2 separate regions of the Homo sapiens genome follow, and region 1 is linked to region 2. The links are contacts of gene promoters, found by promoter capture Hi-C in human tissues and cell types (Jung and others, 2019). All regions are on one chromosome and are shown on one strand. The core of a region is centred on a gene start or on the middle of the fragment in contact, and the rest is flanking DNA. Distances in the headings are between cores, read along the strand shown. Region 1 has its middle 47 kb from the start of MIR802. Region 2 holds the start of CLIC6 (chloride intracellular channel 6).

The links. The method cuts DNA at HindIII sites, captures the fragments that hold promoters and counts their contacts. A contact is called where the count stands out against the background at its distance.
Region 1: a contact is called between a fragment that was not itself captured here and the fragment with the promoter of CLIC6 in region 2, in 1 of the 25 tissues and cell types used here (dorsolateral prefrontal cortex).

Annotation. Positions count from the first base shown.
Region 1 is chr21:35,672,026-35,675,239 of GRCh38, reverse strand. No RefSeq gene overlaps it. Among named protein-coding and RNA genes, the nearest start is that of MIR802, 47 kb to the left of the region's middle. The HindIII fragment of the contact is 5,506 bases long and covers 1-3,214 here.
Region 2 is chr21:34,667,368-34,670,467 of GRCh38, reverse strand. CLIC6 (chloride intracellular channel 6) reads right to left here and starts at 1,474. Exons shown (of 6, transcript NM_053277.3): 1 at 1-1,474. The coding sequence starts at 1,079. RefSeq lists a silencer at 742-1,181. The HindIII fragment of the contact is 4,429 bases long and covers 1-2,835 here.

The sequences.
Region 1 (3,214 bases), core at 187-2,686, 1.0 Mb before region 2:
GTGACCCTTTACCTTATTTTTAAAGGAGAAAACAGAATTTGGTCTGAAAGTATCTAATATGTAACCATATTGTTCCCAGAAACCAAGATCAATAATTCTGAACTGTATCAAAATGCCACAAGAAAGTAAATGATTCCACAACTTCAACCACAACACTGTGAGCATCTAGCTTTTGCAGAGCACCACACTGTGGGCTGGGGAAAGATAACCGCTGGTGGTTTTTCCCGTTCTTCAGAAACTTAAAGTTGATAGAGAAAGGACAAAGCAGAAAGAGCTTCAATAAAACCAGGATGGGCAGGTGCGGTGGCACATGCCTGTAATCCCAACACTTTGGGAGGCTCAGGCTGGTGGATCACCTGAGGCCAGGAGTTCGAGACCAGCCTGGCCAACATGGTGAAACCACGTCTCCACTAAAAACATAACAAAAATTAGCCTGGAGTGGTGGTGCGCACCTGTAATCCCAGCTACTCAGGAGGCTGAGGCATGAGAATTGTTTGAACCCGGGAAGGAGGGGTTGTAGTGAACCGAGATTGTGCCACTGAACTCCAGCCTGGGCAACAGAGGGAAACCCTGTCTCAAACAAACAACAAACAACAACAACAACAATAACAACAACAACAAATCAGGACAGCAGAACTAGCAGAACTTCTGTAGCGTGTGCTGTTTCACACACTGTCCTAAGTACTCTACATGTATAAACTCATTTAATCTCACCACTACCCTTTGAGGCAGATTGTATTATTAAACCCATTTTCCCGATGAGAACGCTGAGGCTTGGAAGTGTGTTATTTAGCCAAGGTCGCACACGAGGAAAAGGAGGAACTGAGATAGAGCCTCGATATCTGCCTGGCGTCTGTGTGTTTCACTCCAGCGTGACAGCGTCTTTAGCTAGAAGTGTCAGAACATTGGATTCTGCTTTTCCAATTGTTGCTAAACGTTCCTCTTGATGAAGTGTGCCTTACATAAAGCGTACAGATCTTTAGCATGTGCTTGTGGATTTTCAGAAGGCAAACACATCGATGTAACCACCAGCCAGGACAAGACGTAGAGTATTATCAGTGTCTCAAAGCCTCTCTCTGTTTTGACCATGAACTATTATTGTCTACACCAGTGTTTCTCCACCTTTTTTCATTATCTTCTCCCTGTTTTAAGCTTTTTAAGACATTGTTTTCTTGTCTCCCATGAAATTATAACACCACAGATATACTGTAAATCTGTTTATGTATCCTATGTTTATTTGTGCTACATGCATAAAAATAATAAGATATTTTTATTTCCCCCCCCAAAACCGCTTCTCATTTCCTTGGGTACCATATGGCCCCACCTTGGGAAAGCATGATCCAGAGTGGGGGTTCCTGGGTATGGAAGCAGAGGACACAAGGGGAAATTTCAGGGGCCTGAAATCTGCCTGAAGTGTACACAATACTGCCCATCTGTGCATTTTTCGGAGGCATTCTCCAGTGCTCTTAAGTCTATACAAAGGCTAAAGAAGATATCAGGTTTCCTGGCACAATGGGAGCCGGATCAGATTTGCCCCCATAGGCTTGGTTAGCTGCAAAATAAGCCCCTTGTTTGGCAGGGTGTGTGGTGGTCCTGTTTTGGTAGGTTCTTCCCTCCTCTGACCCACCCCACAGGAACTGTCCATCCAATCAGGGATGTTCATGCTCTGTGCAAGTCCTGTCCCTGTTGGTGTCATTAAGCAAGTAAACTGAGGCACAGTAAAATTTTAAAGCACTTATTGAGCAAACAGCAATTCATAGAGCAAACAGCAACCAAACCAGAGGTGGTTCATGAGCTCCACTGAGGGAAGATGGAGAAGGCTTTTTCTCCATCTGTCTTGCTCTGTCACCCAGGCTGGAGTGCAGTGGTACGATCTCTGCTCACTGCAACTTCTACCTCCTGGGTTCAAGTGATTCTCCTGTCTCAGCCTCCTTAGTAGCTGGGACTACAGGCGCATGCCACCACACCCAGCTAATATTTGTATCATTGATTTATTTTTCATAGAGACGGGGTTTCAGCATGTTGGCCAGGCTGGTCTCGAACTCCTGACCTCAAGTGATCCACCCATCTTGGCCTTCCAAAGTGCTGGGATTACAGGTGCGAGCTACCGTTCTCGGATGGGGGAGGCTTTTGAAGATGAACACAGAAGTAAAGCAAAGAGAAAACATTTGATTGGCTACAGTTACACAGTTGCCTTATTTGGTCTATCCCGCTAGAAAGTCCCTCTTTTTATAAGTTTGTTAGCTTTTTCTGATTGGTTAGGCTTAAGTTCTGTTTTTCTTTAATATAGGCATTTACAAGAAATAGCTTTAATTCAGTTTTGCTTATGTTTGCCAGTCGATGAAAGTTAAGGCTTGTCTACTCAGGGAGTCTTCAGGCTCAGTCTCCATTTTAATTTAACAGTGGCTACACTAGGTTCCCTTACTGTATAACAAACTGACCAAACTTAGTGGCTTAAAACAATACATATTTATTATCTCACAGTTGTCATGGTGCTGGGACCTAGACCCGGCTTACCTGGTTCTCTGCTTAGGGTCTCAAAGGTGGCAATCAAAGTGTTGGCTGCAGTGCCCATCTCAGCTGAGACCAGGGTCCTCTTCCAAGCCCACTGGTGGTTGGAAGAATTCAGGTTGTTGCATTTGTAGGACTCAGGCCCTCAGCTCTGAGGGGCCCCCACCATTCCCGGACACACGGCCCTCTCCATGGGTAGGTTGCAGCATGGTAGTTAGCTCCTGCAAGGCCAGCAGGGATCTCTGTAGTTATACTGGCAAAATGGAGTCATAGACCTCCATACATCAAGGGCAGGGGATTATATGAGGCATTGCATCTCGGGAGAGGAGCAGAGAACCATCTTAGAACCCTGCTAACCACAGTGTCTGTCTCCTAGGCTCAACCAATTTAAGGTCTTCTTCAGAGAGAGTCTCTCAGGTGAGATATTTCTGGAACATCTGCATTTCAGATGTTTCCATTTGAAAAAGAATTACTTCACAGGTCGTAGTGAAAAACAGGAGTTAATAGATAGCCGTTAAGATGAGAAGGGCAACTGGTACATAATAAGCACTTGATAAATGTTAGCAGTAGTAATAACATCATTGCTAGTCTCGGTGTCCATTTTGCACATGGGTATACCCTAAACCAGCACCTGTTTGACCCTGATGACAGATGACTTGGGCTCAGTCTCCTAGCACATTCTTCTAGGGACAATGTGAGTTCT
Region 2 (3,100 bases), core at 225-2,724:
CCTACCCTGTCCTCGCCAGCGTCTGCCCTTGCGTCCCCGGGGGCCGCTTCTTCGGACCCCTTTACCCCCGGGACCTCCGCCTCCTCCGCTGCGTCCCAGGCGAGCTCACCGGGGCTGCGCCCCGCACTCTCCCCGGCTGCGACCTCAATTGCCTCGGCCTGGGGCGAGAGGCTGCCGTCCCCCGATTGCTGCGGCTCACCCGAGACCCGGCGCGCCCTTCCTGCCGGACCCTCGGCGTCCATGCTGTCCCCCGCCGGGCCTTCGGCTTCTACGCTGTCCCCCGCCGGGACCCCCGCTTCTACGCCGTCCCCCGCCGGGTCCCCCGCCTCTACGCTGTCCCCCACCCGGCCCTCCGCGTCTACGCTGTCCCCCGCCGGACCTTCCGCGTCTACGCTGTCCCCCACCCGGCCCTCCGCGTCTACGCTGTCCCCCGCCGGGCCCTCGGCTTGTATGTTGTCCCCCAGCGGGCCCTCCGCGTCTACGCTGTCCCCCGCCGGACCTTCCGCGTCTACGCTGTCCCCCACCCGGCCCTCCGCCTCTACGCTGTCGCCCGCCGGGCCCTCCGCTTCTATGTTGTCCCCCAGCGGGCCCTCCGCGTCTACGCTGTCCCCCGCCTCCCCGGACGCGCTACCTTCCGGGACCTCAGGCCTCTGCTCCGCCTCCTCCTGCCTCTCGGGGGCCGCAGAGTCCTCGGGCTCCCTCTGAGCCTCCCCGCGGGGCTCGCCCTGCGCGCCGCGTCCCGGGCTCGCCCCCTCCACCTGCTGCGCGCCGCTTGTCTCCTCCCCTCCTTGGGGCACCTCGGCACCCTCCGGGGCTCCCTCCTCGGCCTCAGTCTCGCCGTGCGCCCCCCTCGTGCCCCGCGCCTCGGCCTCCGGGCCCCTGTCTGGCCCGCCGCCTCCTGCCTCCTTCACAGCGGCGGCGCCCCTCGGCGCCTCCTCTGCGCCCTCGCTCCCCTCCGGCCCTTCTGCCTCCCCGCCCGCGGCTCCTGGCTCTCCGGGTCTCTCAGCCAGAGGCGCGGGGACCTCCGGCGGCCCCTGGGGACCCGGGGCAACCCCCTCCGGCTCCGCGGCCTCGGCCATGGCCGCAGATCCCTGTCCTTGATCGGGACTCCTTCCTTGACGCTGCTTAAGGGTCGGTGGCGCTGGGCAAGGGGCGTGCTACGGGGCCCTCTGTGCTCCTTGAAGGACGCCGGCTCCGGGATCCTGCGGCAAAGGTTTAGCCGGGGCACTGGGGCCTTGCGCAGGACCCGCAGGGCAAACTCCGCTTGGCCCCAAGCCTCTGCGCCCCTTCTGCCCAGCTGAAACTCCCTGGACTCTTCCTCCACTGCTGGAGCTTCTCCCCGATTGCGCGTCTGCTTCCCACCGGGACCCCAATCTCGCCCGCGGGCCGCGGAGGTGCAGTGCACGGCTGGAGAGGGCTGCTTCGCTCCTGCGCCTTTGGAAGTGCCCGGCCCGCTGTCCGCTGTCCTGGGGTTGACCAGAAGTCCTTGGTGCCAACTCCATCCCCTGGGGCTTGGGCGGGGTTTGTCTTCCCCTCCTCCCTCCTTTGTTTGGGTAGCCTAGGAGCTTGGCCAATGACAGCCTTTCTCGTGACCCTTGTGGATGTTGATGAAAAGATTCTGGTTCTCCTGGCCGCTTGGGTGTTGTTCTCTAGAATGGCTTCAAGTTCCAGAGTCACTTAAATCACCCCCTCCAAACACACACCCCGACACCCAAACACCTAATCCCCACCTTACCCCAGGAGTGAAGCATCAAGCTCCCCCGGTACCCAACTGAAGATGTCCACATTGTGCCTGATGTCCAAGAGCAAGGGTGTAAATCCCTGAGAGAAGAAGCTGGGGAGGCTACGCTGGCCGCCTTCCCATGTCTGCAGGGCCCCCGGAGAGGTTCCAGAGGCCCCTCATATAGACGCACAAGGAGCCAGTCGAGTTTCTCTGACCAGAGATGGGCGCTGTTGTCCATGAGGGTCCGCTTCTCCGGGCCTGTCTGGAGGATCGTGGGAGCCCTGCGCTGGAAAAAGGTTACACCTTCATCTCCCGGGTCTCTTAAGACTGTAAGAGTCTGTGTATCTTGCTGATTCTCCTAGATTTCTAAACTCACCACCAGTGCTTCTGCCTCCAAGTTAAGAGCTTGGGAATCTGGAGGTGGAGAAAAGAAAATCCAAGATGTGAAAGAGGGGAGCTATGGAATTCCCTGGGTTAGGGTTCTCCCAGGATCACAGACCCAATACCTACTTTAAAAAGGAAGTTATTATGGTGAAAAGTATGTCGTAAGTTTATTATAAGCCAGGCTACTTCTAGTGGGTTACCAAGAAACTGGGTTACCCAAGGTGGCACTATGTAAATGTGGTGGAACGGGGATCCCAGCTCAAGACTGACTTGATTCATCAGGCTTTATATGGCTTTGATATTGGCCTAAGATACATGAGCCCCTCATGCCCACAGAAGGTTGTTTTCGTTGAAAGAGCTGGGTGTGCCTTTGATGTGGCTTGGGGTCACACCTTTGGCCATGAACATAATGTGTCTCCTTCTACTTCCCATTGCTCATCACTGATGGATGACAGGACAGGAGCCCAGAGACACTCAGCTTCATGCTACCTTTCTCCAAGGCTGTGCTCTGTCTGGGTAGGTACAGGCCAGAAGCTTCATCACCACAAAGTGGCATCTAGTCAAAGCATGACACTCACACAGGTGAGCCAGAGATGCACGTGAGCCGTAAAAGCTCTAGGCACCTAGAAAAGGAATCCTGCTGCATTCACCGGGGCAAGGTAGCAGCCATCACCCTTATCTTGTAAAGAAAGATGAAGCCAGCACGTTCAGCCCGGAACAGCAAACACAGTACAGGTTTACAGTGCTTTATGCAAATCCCATGAGCCCGGATGTGTTTCAGAAAACAGAATTGTTAGAAAGATGATTGAGTGATTTTACTGTATATTACATAACACAGAACATCACTTTGTGATCAAACACATTAATATTTCTGCAGTAAGACAGGCATCACATTTGGTGAGATATGGTAAAATCATACAAGCTTCAGGCCCCCCACCCCCAGTTTAGGTTCACCTCCAGCTGAGTTCAAGCCTTTCTGGTTCTGATTCTAGA